Regions from separate parts of the Homo sapiens genome. Here region 1 is linked to region 2. Evidence: promoter capture Hi-C in human tissues and cell types (Jung and others, 2019). All regions are on one chromosome and are shown on one strand. The core of a region is centred on a gene start or on the middle of the fragment in contact, and the rest is flanking DNA. Distances in the headings are between cores, read along the strand shown.

Region 1 (6,673 bases), core at 2,096-4,595, 290 kb before region 2:
ATCCAACAAAATGCATTAAGTGTGTGCCATTGGCCAGGCCCTGTTCTAATCTCAGAAGATATGTAAATTTAAAAACAAAGTCACCCCTCTCCTGGACCTGACATCTTACAGGAGAGGGACAATAAATATGTAGAATTAATTATAGTACTGAGAGAAGGGCTAAGGAGAAAATCAAAACAGTGAGGCGACAGGGTGACAGCTATGGGAGGTGTGTACTGTGTTAGATAGGTGGGAAGGGGAAGTGTCCACATAAGGTGCCATTTGAGTTCTGAGTGTATTGAGGGAGGGAGCCCAGTGGGTATCTTGGGGAGGTGGAGGGAACAGCAAGTCAAAGGCCCCGGGGTGGGAATGTGCGTGGTAGGTTAGGGGAAGAGCACGGAGGCCATGTGGCCACAGTAAGAGGCACAAGGGGAGAGTGGGAGGGGAGGTCCGATCTTGCAGGCCTCCATGAGGACTCTGGATTTGGAGGGTTTTGCGCAGAAGAATGAAATCCTGTGACTTATAATTTTATGGAATCATCATGTCTGCTGTGCAGGGAACAGGCTGTAGGGGCAGGTGGGGGAGCAGTGAGGCCGTTTGGAGGGAAGGACAAATCCCAGATGACAGGATAGTAGCTTGCCCAGGGTGGAGGCAGTGAGATGGTGAAAAGTGCCAGGTCCCAGATGAATTCTGGATGCAGGATTTGCTAGAGTGGATATGAGCTGTGAGAAAAAGGGACGAATCCAGGAGGCTTCCAAGGCTCTTGGCCTGTGCAACGGTAGGCTGTGGCTGCCGATTACTGAGATAAGTGGCAGGGTGATCAGGCTTCGGAGGGTCAGTCAGAGGTCTTGTTTTGGACCTGTTACCTTTGGGAGGGCTAAATGGCATCAAGTGAAAGTGGACAGGGAAGGGGCAAGTTGGAGCTTGAAGAGGTGAGGATAGAGATGTGATCTGGGAGTGGAGAGAGGACATTTAAAGCCAACGACTGCATGAGCTAACCCAGGTCCTTGATTCTAGTAAAGGTAGATTAAGAAGAGGTCTGAGGGGTTTAAAGAGTGGCCTGTTGTCCACATGGGCACTCCAAGGGTCTGAGCAAGGGGAATGGCAGGCTGCACCATCACCCCCTAACAGGCCCTCCATTCTCCTCAGGGAGGGAGTCAGCCCTGAGCTTGAATCCTGGCTCCACCACTCATAAGCTTTTTGATCTTTTGACCTCTGTGCCTCACTTGCTTCATCTGTAAAATGGGAGTAACAGAACCTCGCAGGGTTTGAGGAGGACTACATGAAATAATGGAATGTTCCTGGCACAGAGTGGCCATGCATACGGGCAGCTCCTCTTACCCCGTCTGCAGTGGCCTGAAGCAGGTTCATAAATGTACCTGGAACCCGCTGGACTGATGAACCCTGCAGAGTCTAGCCGTGAACATGCACCTGGGTCCTAGGAGTCTACAGTTCATAATCTCTCTCATGCTTAGTGTTGCTCTTTTTATGTTGCTTTTATCTATTCATTATGTAAATATTTACTGAGCGTCTTCTATGTGTACCCTAGCATGGTGGGACCTGGGGTAAACCTGGGGTCCAATCCTGCTACCACTGAATACCTGTATGAATACCTGTATGACCCTGGCCAAGTGAATTAACCTCTTTAGGCCTCAGTTTCCTCATTTGTGAAACCTAGGTAATAAGCGCAGTTACCTCATTCGATTCAGAGGATGTCTGCCAAGCACAATGGGTGCACAGCTAAGTGCTCAATAACTACTAGTGGTCATGGTCACTGCTCTAAAGAACTTGGGGGCAAATGCAAGGTGCAGGATGGGGATGGAAGCAGACAACTGCTCACAGCCGGTCTACCCCAAACCCTTTTTCCAGGACATGGTGACCTACTTCATGAACCTGAGCCAGGCGAATGCTCAGGGGACGCCGCGCTGGGAGCTCGAGTACCAGCTGACCGAGGCCTATGGGGTGCCGGACGCCAGCGCCCACTCCATGCACACAGTGCTGGACCGCATCGCTGGCGACCAGAGCACACTGCAGCGCTACTACGTCTATAACTCAGTCAGCTACTCTGCTGGGGTCTGCGACGAGGCCTGCAGCATGCAGCACGTGTGTGCCATGCGCCAGGTGGACATTGACGCTTACACCACCTGTCTGTATGCCTCTGGCACCACGCCCGTGCCCCAGCTCCCGCTGCTGCTGATGGCCCTGCTGGGCCTGTGCACGCTCGTGCTGTGACCTGCCAGGCTCACCTTCTTCCTGGTAACGGGTAACGGGGGCAGCGCCCAGGATCACCCAGAGCTGGGCCTTCCACCATTTCCTCCGCGCCTGAGGAGTGAACTGAAATAGGACAACCGAATCAGGAAGCGAAGCCCCAGGAGCTGCAGCCATCCGTGATCGCGCCACTGCACTCCAGCCTGGGTGACAAAGCCAGACTCTCTCCAAAAACAAACCAGAAACAGAAAAGAAATGACGACCCAAGACCCCCCTACAAGCATACTTCTTTTGCGTATTATGTTTAACTCACAAAACAAAGCTCATCATGCGTTTGATTCTGTGTTGTGTTCCTTTTCTTTTCTTTTGAGACGGAGTCTCGCTCTGTCGCCCAGGCCGGAGTGCAGTGGCGCTATCTCGGCTCTCTGCAACCTCTGCCTCCCGGGTTCAAGCGATTCTCCTGCCTCAGCCTCCTAGCTGGGACTACAGGCGCGCGCCAACACGCCCGACTAATTTGTATTTTTAGTAGAGACGGGGTTTCGCCATGTTTGCCAGGCTGGTCTCGAACTCCTGACCTCAGGTGATCCGCCCGCCTGGGCCTCCCAAAGTGTTGGGATTACAGGCGTGAGTCACCGCGCCCGGCCTCTATTCCCTTCCGTATGGAAATGAGGTTAACTCATTTGCAGGAACCTAACGCCCGCCCTCCCCCGACTCGGATCGCTGGCGTGAACCCAGCGGCCCCGTGCTCTCCGGGTATCCCTGGATCGAGGCGCACGCGTTGTTGCAAAGTCTCGCACTTAGGGATTAGAATGTGCCTTTGCGTTTCGTTTTGTTTTGCAACAATACAGGTGTGAGGGATCGCAGCCCTGGTCCAGGCTCTAGTCTCCCCGCCCTCTCGCTTTCTTGGGCCTCCGGGCGCCTCAAAGGTAAAACTAGGCCATTTGAAGCCTGCGAAGCGAAGGGCAGTCGGTCTTCAGGCCTAGCGGGCTTGGCTGGGCTGGGTCGGTGGACCCCTGGGCTGGCGGCGGGAGCAGAGCATCGAGCGGCTTTTAGCTGGGGTTCGGGCGGAGGACCTGGGACAACCGCGGGCCTCGCTCCTCCCCGGACGGGGCGGGACGGGGAAGTCCCGCCCACCAGGCCCAGGCCCCGGGCCGCCCCGAGGGCTGCGCCCACCTCCTTCCTGCCTCGGCAACCCCGGGCCCTGAGGGCAGGCCCCAACCGCGGAGGAGCAGGAGAGGGCGGAGGCCGGCGGGCCATGCCCTGGTCGTCCCGCGGCGCCCTCCTTCGGGACCTGGTCCTGGGCGTGCTGGGCACCGCCGCCTTCCTGCTCGACCTGGGCACCGACCTGTGGGCCGCCGTCCAGTATGCGCTCGGCGGCCGCTACCTGTGGGCGGCGCTGGTGCTGGCGCTGCTGGGCCTGGCCTCCGTGGCGCTGCAGCTCTTCAGCTGGCTCTGGCTGCGCGCTGACCCTGCCGGCCTGCACGGGTCGCAGCCCCCGCGCCGCTGCCTGGCGCTGCTGCATCTCCTGCAGCTGGGTTACCTGTACAGGTGAGTGCTTCGCCCCGGGAGGGGAGGAGTGTCGGAGCCCAGCACCTCCGTCAGCTGGGTCACCTGTACAGGTGACACGCCATATGCCGGGAAGGGGACTGGGAGAGGGAACCAAGTCCTGTGGGCGCCTGGCCTACAGGTGAGCGTGCAGCCCTTTACGGAAAGGGAATCCCGGTAGACTGCCTTCATTCTAGCCCTAGCTTTCCTGGCACAGGCGAAGAAACTGAGGCCCAGGGAAGAAAGGGAGGCGCATGGGCTTTGAAGTCGGACCTCTCAGGGATCCACTTCTGGCTTTGCCCCCTCTCGCCTCACTTCTGCATTTCTCTGAGCCTCAGTTTCCTCCTGCGTAGAAAGGAGGTAGTCACCCTGAGACAGGTGTGACGGGCAGGCCTGTTGTGAAGAGTGAGCGAAAGAATGAGAAAGTGCCTCGCACAGTGCCTGGCCTGTAATGGCAGGGGCTGCGGACTCAGTTCAGCATCCCATGTTTCAGCATGGGCAGGGCCTTGGGAAGTCACTGACCTCTCAGTGGGGCTGTTTGGTTGCTGTTCCCATTGGGATGGGGATAGCGCCTGCCCGTTTGGTGAAGATGCAGTGAAATGACATCTGTCCACTGCCCTGGCTCAGAGTGAGCACTCAGCAACCTCAGCTGGCTTCTTGACCTGGGCCTCCCTGGGAGTTTCAGCAGCCCTGACCCCACCACAGCGCTTGCCCCTCACAAAGGCCGCCTCTCACCCTGTCTGCCTGGTTGTATTCTTCCCCCTGAAACTTGGCTTCCCACCCCAGACCCAGCAAGAGGGCAGAGATGGCCTCTGACTCATCCATGCCCATGGAGCCAGCCAGGGCTGGGCATAGGCTGGGTCCTGGAAAATGTGTGTGGATTCTGCTCCTTTTTGGACCTGGTGGAGCCTCGTAGAGATGGGAAAACAAACCCAAGGCTCAGAGGCATGCGACAAAGTCAGGGCAGAGGGTGGTGTGGGTTGGGATGGGGTGGCCAGGGCCAGGATCTGCTCTTGAATCCGTTTTTACAAACTCTTGAGATCTGGCCTTGACAAAGCCACACGGAGTCTCCAGGAGTGGAAGAGAGGAGCTTTGAATGTGGCAGTTTTGCCTGAGGGATTATAGAGACATCAGAAAACCCCGGGTGGGCATGAAGGGGTGCAGTTGTTAAGTCCTGGGCAGGCCTCCATGAGCCGTGAATCTGTAACTACCTTATGCATCTTTGTGGCCAATATTTCTGCTGAGCTTGAGTCAGACAGACTGTACTAGCTTTGGCTTTGGAAATGGGTCTCTGTTCCTGCCTGTGAATTGGCCGAGGCAGGGGTCCCTGCTAGGTCACTGGGGACCATAGGCAAAGGCTCCTGCTGAGGGAGAACCCCAGCCTGTCCTGCCTGCCTGCTCCTCAGTGTGTTCTTGTGTCCTTCCAGGGGAAGTGACAGTACATGTCTGGTGAATGAGCTTGTGATGAGTGAACGGGGTTCTCTCCCAATAGGCAACTGAGAGCAAAGTTCTGGGTGGAGGGTCCTTGGTGCATCCTCCACTTACTCTTCATGCCAGTGGGTACCCCAGACCTGTCTGTCCAAACTCTGGACTCTCTTAACTCCGCCCCAATCTCCATCCTTAACCACTCAGGGCCAGCCTCTTAAATGGGATCCCTCCTTCCAATCTAACCCTCCTCCAGCCCCTCCCCTGTGTGGCCGGGGCAAGGCAGAGTCTGATTCCATCTGGCCTGTGCCCAGAAGTGCCCAAGAGGCAAATGTCCTCTTGCCCACAGGACCCCAGGAGATCTTGGGCACACTAAAGTTTGAGAACTACTGCCTCAGGCAACTTTATAGCATGCCTTTCCAATTCAGGTTTGGATCCAAATCCTCATTCCAGTACTTATTAGCTGCTTATAATTTTTTGTTTGTTTTTTAAAAAGAGGTAGGGTCTGGTCAGGCTTGGTGGCTCATGCCTGTAATCCTAGCAGTCTGGGAGGCTGACGTGGGTGGATCACTTGAGGTCAGGAGTTTGAGACCAGCCTGCTGAACATGGCAAAAGCTCATCTCTACAAAAATTAGCCAGGTGTGGTGGCGCATGCCTGTAATCCCAGCATCCCAGCTACTCTGGAGGCCGAGGCAGGAGAATCGCTTGAACCTGGGAGGTGGAGGTTGCAGTGAGCCGAGTTTGTGCCACTGCACTCTAGCCTGGGCGACAAGCGACAGATGTAGACTCTGTCTCCAAAAAAAAAGAAAAAAAAAAAGAGAGAGAGAGGCAGGGTCTCTGTTGCCTGGGCTGGAGTGCAGTGGCACAATCAATCATGGCTCACAGTGGCCTTGAACTCCTGGGCTCAAGCTGTCCTCCTGCGTCAGCCTCCTGAGTAGCTTGGACTACAGGCTTGTACCACCACGTCCAACTAATTAAAAAAAATTCTTTGTAGAGATGGGGCTTGCTGTGTTGCCCAGGGTGGTCTCAAACTCCTGGCCTCCAGTGATCCTCTTGCCTTGGCCTGTCAAAATGTTGGGATTACAGGCGCGAGCCACTGCACCCAGACCTTATTAGCTTCTTGATCCTGTTTCCCCATCTGTAAAATGGGCTTTTGTGAGAAGTAAACAGGACAAGGTTTGTGATGAGCTTGGGACAGTGCTTAGCCAGCGGGAGTAGAAGGTGTATTGATCCCCATTTTTGCTTTTTTGTTTTTTTTGAGACGGAGTCTTGTTCTGTCGCCAGGCTGGAGTGCAGTGGCACGATCTCGGCTCACTGTAACCTCCGCCTTGCAGATTCAAGAGATTCTCCTGCCTCAGCCTCCTGAGTAGCTGGGACTACAGGCGCGCACCACCACACCCAGCTAATTTTTTGTATTAGTAGAGACGAGGCTTCACCATGTTAGCCAGGATGGTCTCAATCTCCTGAACTCGTGATCAGCCCGCCTCAGACTCCCAAAGTGCTGGGATTACAGGCA
Region 2 (6,593 bases), core at 2,720-5,219:
GGTGAACCGCCCCACCCCCCACCCCCCACCTCGTCTCTACAAAAAATACAAAAATTAGCCAGGTGTGGTGGTGTGCACCTATAGTCCCAGCTGCTTGGGAGGCTGAGGTGGGAGAATCACCTGAGCCTGGGAGGTTGAGGCTGCAGTAAACAGTGATTGTGCTACTGTACTCCAGCCTGGGAGACAGACTGAGACCCTGTGTTAAAAAAAAAAAAAAAAAAAGGCCGGCGCGGTGGCTCACACCTGTAATCCCAGCACTTTGGGAGGCTGAGGCGAGTGGATTACCTGAGGTCAGGAGTTCAAGACCAGCCTGGCCAACATGGTGAAACCCCGTCTCCACTAAAAATACAAAAATCAGCTGGGCGTGGTGGCATGTGCCTGTAGTCCCAGCTACTCAGGAGGCTGAGATAGGAGAATTGCTTGAATCCAGGAAGCAGTGGTTACAGTGAGCCAAGATTGCGCCACTGCACTCCAGCCTGGGCGACAGAGCAAGACTCTGTCTCAAAAAAAAAAAAAAAAGAATTTTGGGTCAGGTTCAGTGGCTCACACCTGTAATCCCAGCACTTTAGGAAGTTGAGACTGGGAATTTGAGACCAGCCTGGTTAACATACTGAGACCCGTCTCTGCAAAAAATAAAAAGAAATTGGCCGGACAGCATAGTGCACACCTGTAGTCCTAGCTACTTGGGAGGATAGTTTGAGCCCAAGAGTTTGAGGTTACAGTCAGCTATAATCACATCACTGCACTCCAGCCTGGGTGACAGAGTGAGTAGAGGGAGACTGTCTCAAAAAAGAAAAAAAAAATTCTAAGAATTTTTTGCTTTTTCTTCTCACAAAGTTACTATGTAAATGAAGCTTTGGGAATGATTTAGTGACTGCCTTAAAGATTCTAAGGAGTTATTCAACAGAGGAGAGTAACTCATACACATTCATTCAAAAATATTCACTAAGGACTCACTACAGGCATATCTTGTTTTTTTGTCTTTTTGTTTTGAGACGGAGTCTTGCTCTGTCGCCAGGCTGGAGTGCAGTGGCGCAATCTTGGCTCACTGCAACCTCAGACTCCCTGGTTCAAGGGATTCTCCTGCCTCAGCCTTCTGAGTAGCTGGGATTACAGGGATACGCCACCACGCCCAGCTAATTTTTTTTTTTGTATTTTTAGTAGAGACGGGGTTCACCATGTTGGCCAGGATGGTCTTGATCTCGACCTCGTGAACCACCCGTCTCGGCCGGCCTCACAAAGTCCCGGGATTACAGGCGTGAGCCACCGTGCCCGGCCGGCATATCTTGTTTTATTGTGCTGCACTTTACTGTGCTTTGTAGATAATGCATTTTTTTGTTTTTTTGTTTTTTTGAGACAGAGTCTTGCTCTGTCGCCCAGACTGGAATGCATTGCTCAAGCAATCAATCAAGCCCGACCCACTTTATTTATTTATTTATTTATTTTAGACAGAGTTTCGCTGTGTCACTCAGGCTGGAGTGCCTTGCTCAAGCAATCCTCCTGCCTCAGCTTTCCAAGTAGCTGGGATTACAGGCATGCACCACCAAGCCCAGCTAATTTTCTATTTTTTTTTTTTTTGAGTTGGAGTCTCACTCTGTCCCCCAGGGTGGAGTGCGATGGCGCGATCTTTGGCTCACTGCAACCTCTGCCTCCCGGGTTCAAGCAATTCTCCTGCCTCAGCCTCCCTGAGTAGCGGGGATTACAGGTGCCCACCACCACGCCGAGCTAATTTTTGTATTTTCAGTAGAGACGGGGTTTCATCATATTGGCCAGGCTGGTCTCTTGGCCAGGCTGGTCTTGAACTCCTGTCTTCATGATCCACCCGCCTCAGCCTCCCAAAGTGCTGGGATTACAAGCGTGAGCCACTGCGCCCAGCCAATTTTCTTATTTTTTGTAGAGACAGAGTCTCGCTATGTTGCCCAGGCTGGTCTCAAACTCCTGGGCTCAAGCGGTTCTCTTGCCATGGCCCCCCAAAGTGCTGGGATTGTAGGCATGAGCCGCTAAGCCCAGCTGCATGTCTTTCATTTTAAATCAAAAGCTAGAAATCATTAAGCTTAGTGAAGAACATGTGCCAAAAGCCAAGATAGGCCAAAAGCTAGGTCTCTTGAGCCAAATAGCCAAGTTGTGAATGCAAAGGAAACATTCTTTTTTTTTTTTTTTGAGACAGTCTTGCTCTGTCTCCCAGGCTGGAGTGCAGTGGCCTGATCTCGGCTCACTACAACCTCCACCTCCCAGGTTCAAGCGATTCTCCTGCCTCAGCCTCCCGAGTAGCTGGGACTACAGGTGTCCACCACCATGCCTGGCTAATTTTTGTATTTTTAGGAGAGACGGGGTGTCACCATATTGGCCAGGCTGGTCTCGAACTCCTGACCTTGTGATCCGCCCACCTCGGCCTCCCAAAGTGCTAGGATTACAGGTGTGAGCCACCACGCCCGGCCAGGAAACATTCTTTTTTTTTTTTTTTTTTTTGAGACGGAGTCTCGCTCTGTCGCCCAGGCCGGACTGCGGACTGCAGTGGCGCAATCTCGGCTCACTGCAAGCTCCACTTCCCGGGTTCACGCCATTCTCCTGCCTCAGCCTCCCGAGTAGCTGGGACTACAGGCGCCCGCCACCGCGCCCGGCTAATTTTTTGTATTTTTAGTAGAGACGGGGTTTCACCTTGTTAGCCAGGATGGTCTCGATCTCCTGACCTCATGATCCACCCGCCTCGGCCTCCCAAAGTGCTGGGATTACAGGCGTGAGCCACTGCGCCCGGCCGAAACATTCTTAAAGAAAAATTTTAAATGCTACTCCAATAAATACATGAATGATAAGAAAGCAAACAGCCTTATTGCTGATAGGAAGAAAGTTTGAGTGGTCTCAGACTTTGATAGAAGATCAAACCGTCCACAATATTCCCTTAATCCAAAACCTAATCCAGAGCAAGGCCCTAACTCTCTTCAATTCTAGGAAAGCTGAGAGACGTGAGGAAGCTGCTGTAGAAAAGCTTAAACCTAGCATAGTTTGCTTCATGAGGTTGAAAGAAAGAAGCCTTCTCAATAACAGAAAAATACAAGGTGAAGCAGCCCATGCTGATGGAGAAGCTGCTGCAGTGAGTTATCCAGAAGATCTAGCTAAGATAACTGATGAAGGTAGATACACTAAACAACAGATTTTTCCATGTAGACAAACAGCCTTGTAATGGAAGAAGATGCCATCTAAGACTTTCATAGCTAAAGAGAAGCCAGGTTGGGAGCAGTGGCTCATGCCTGTAATCCCAGGACTTTGGGAGGCTGAGGCGGGCAGATCACGAGGTCAAGAGATTGAGACCATCCTGGCCAACATAGTGAAACCCCATCTCTACTAAAAATACAAAAAATTAGCTGAGCGTGTGGCATGTGCCTGTAGTCCCATCTACTAGGGAGGGTGAGGCAGGAGAATCACTTGAACCCAGGAGGTGGAGGTTGCAGTGAGCCGAGATTGTGCCACTGCACTCCAGCCTGGGTGACAGAGGGAAACTCCATCTCAAAAAAAAAAAAAAAGAGACAGAAGCCAATACCTGGTTTCCAAGTTTCAAAGCACAGGTTGACTCTCTTGTTAGGGGCTAATGCAGCTGGTGACTATAAGTTTAAGCCAGTGCTCATTGACTATTCTGAAAATCCTAGGGCCTTTAAGAATTATGCTAAATTTACTCTACCTGTGCTCTATAAATGGAACAGGCCGGGAGTGGTGGCTCATGCCTGTAATCCCAGCACTTTGGGAGGCCGATGCAGTGGATCACTTGAGGTCAGGAGTTCAAGACCAGCCTGGCCAACATGGCGAAACCCCGTCTCTACTAAAAATACAAAAATTAGCCAGGCGTGGTGGTGCGCACCTATAATCCCAGCTACATGGGGGGCTGAGGCAGGAGAATCGCTTGAACCTGGGAGGCAGAGGCTACAGTGAGCCAAGATCATGCCATTACACTCCAGCTTGGGCAACAGAGTGAGACTCCGCCTCAAAAAACAAACAAAAAATGTGATCCATAGAAGGAGGCAAAAAAATCAACATAAACAGGAGTTTGAAAGAAGCTCATTTCACTCTCATGGATGACTTTGAGGTGGTTCAAGACTTCAATGTAGGAAGTAACTGTAGGTGTGTTCGAAATAGCAAGAGAACAGCCTGTCCAACATAGCGAAACCCCATCTCTACTAAAAATATAAAAATTAGCCAGGCATGGTGGCACATCCCTGTAATCCCAGCTACTTGGGAGGCTAAGGCAGGAGAATCACTTGTACCCGGGAGGCAGGGGTTGCAGTGAGCCGAGATCTCACCACTGCACTCCAGCCTGGGCGTCAGAGCAAGACTCTGTCTTCAAAAAGAAAAAAAGAAATAACAAGAGAAGTAGAATTAGAAATAAAGCCTGAATATGTGACTGAATTGTTGCAATCTCAGGATAAAACTCGAATGGATGAGGAGTTGCTTCTTCTTTTTATTCTTTTTTTCTTTATTCTTTTGTTTTGTTTTGTTTTGTTTGAGATGGAGTTTCGCTCTTGTTTCCCAGGCTGGAGTGCAGTAGCGCAATCTCAGCTCACTGCAACGTCCACCTCTTGGGTTCAAGCGATTCTCCTGCCTCAACCTCCCAAGTAGCTGGGATTACAGGCACCCACCACCATGCCTGGCTAATTTTTTGCATTTTAGGTAGAGATGGGGTTTCACCATCTTGGCCAGGCTGGTCTTGAACTTCTGTCCTCGTGATCCATCCACCTCAGCCTCCCAAAGAGCTGGGATTACAGGCGTGAGCCACTGCGCCTGGCCAATTTTTGTATTTTTAGTAGAGACGGGGTTTCCCCATGTTGGCCCAGGCTGACTTTTCTTTTTTTGTTTCTTTAAGGAGTTGCTTCTTATGGCTGAGCAAAGAAAGTGGTTTCTTGAGATGGAATCTACTCCTGTGAAGATGCTATGATCATTGTTGAAATGACAACAAAGGATTTAGAATATTACATAAGCTTAGTTGACAAAGCAGCAGCAGGGTTTGAGAAGATTGACTCCAATTTTGAAAGAAGTTCTGCTGTAGGTAACATGTTACCAAACAGTATCACATGCTACAGAGAAATCTTTCATGGAAGGAAGAGTGGATCCTTGTGGCCAACTTTATTATTGTCTTATTTTAAGAAATTGGCACAGCCGGCTGGGCACCGTGGCTCACACCTATAATCCCAGCACTTTGGGAGGCTGAGGCTGGTGGATCACCTGAGGTCGGGAGTCCAAGACCAGCCTAACAAACATGGAGAAACCCCATCTCTACTAAAAATAAAAAATTAGCCGGGCGTGGTGGTGCTACTCGGGAGGCAGAGGCAGGAGAATTGCTTGCACCTAGGAGACGGAGGTTGCCGTGAGCCGAAATCACACCATTGCACTCCAACCTGGGCAACAAGAAGGACACTTCGTCTCACAAAAAACAAACAAACAAAAAAAAAGTGCTCTAACACAGCCTTGTGCAGTCAAAAGAAGATACTGTGTGACCCTGATAAGCAATTTTTGTTTTTATTTTTATTTTTATTTTTGATTCAGTGGCACAATCTGCAACCTCCATCTCCCAGGTTCAAGCTATTCCCTTGCCTCAGCCTGCCGAGTAGCTGGGATTACAGGCTCTCGCACCACACCCGGCTAATTTTTATGTTTTTGGTAGAGATGGGATTTTACCATGTTGGCCAGCCTCCCAAGTACATGAGATTATAGGTACATGCCACCACACCCTGCTGATTTTTGTAGTTTTTGTGAATACAGGGTTTCTCCATGTTGACCAGGCTGGTCTCGAACTCTTGGGCTCAAGGGATCCTCCCTTTTGGCCTCCCCAGATGCTGGGATTACAGATGTTAGCCACCAAGCCTGGCCAATTTTACCTTTCTGAGCTCAAGTTTTCTCACTTTGTACACGTGGTCAATGAGAGATTTTTATCATCAGTTGGAGGGAAGTGGTGAGATATATACACATGATATCAAGCATACACCAAGTTTGGAGATCAGTGGTAGAAAGAGATAAAAAGAATGTGTTGAAGATGTTGAGGACTGGGTGAGATTACTTTCAGCTGAGCTTTTTGGAGGAGGTGTCATTTAAAGTCTTGCTTCAGGCCACAAACAGGAATGAAGGCATTGAATGATGGATACTATTTCAATGGGTAGAGATTTGCAAGAAGAGTACTGAAAGAAAGATTTGAAGGCCAAACAAGAAACATGGATGTTGCAGGTGGTAAGAATGGGAGGGTAAATTAGGTGCATCTTGGCAAACCTTGAATGTTAAGATAGGAGTTTGATTTTTTTTTTTTTTTTTTTTGAGACAGGGTTTCGCTCTGACACCCAGATCGTGCAGTGGCACGATCTCAGCTCACTGCAACCTCTGCCTCCCGGGTTCAAGCGATTCTCCTGCCTCAGCTTTTCGAGTAGTTGGGACTACAGGCGTGCACCACCACGCTTGGCTAATTTTTGTATATTTAGTAGAGATGGGGTTTCACGATGTTGGCCAGGATGATCTTGAACTCCTGACCTCAGGTGATCTGCCTGCCTTTGCCTCCCAAAGTGCTGGGATCACAGGCGTGAGCCACCATGCCCACCCAAGGAGTTTGATCTTAATTC

What was found. The method cuts DNA at HindIII sites, captures the fragments that hold promoters and counts their contacts. A contact is called where the count stands out against the background at its distance.
Region 1: a contact is called between the fragment with the promoter of XKR8 here and a fragment that was not itself captured in region 2, in 1 of the 25 tissues and cell types used here (dorsolateral prefrontal cortex).

The regions. Positions count from the first base shown.
Region 1 is chr1:27,956,628-27,963,300 of GRCh38, forward strand. It overlaps XKR8 (XK related 8), which reads left to right and starts at 3,346. Exons shown (of 3, transcript NM_018053.4): 1 at 3,346-3,735. The coding sequence starts at 3,443. SMPDL3B (sphingomyelin phosphodiesterase acid like 3B) reads left to right here. Exons shown (of 8, transcript NM_014474.4): 8 at 1,849-2,525. The coding sequence ends at 2,211. RefSeq lists a silencer at 3,217-3,606 and an enhancer at 3,287-3,850. The HindIII fragment of the contact is 22,893 bases long and covers 1-6,673 here.
Region 2 is chr1:28,250,460-28,257,052 of GRCh38, forward strand. No RefSeq gene overlaps it. Among named protein-coding and RNA genes, the nearest start is that of SESN2, 5.8 kb to the right of the region's middle. RefSeq lists an enhancer at 1-655. The HindIII fragment of the contact is 5,032 bases long and covers 1,454-6,485 here.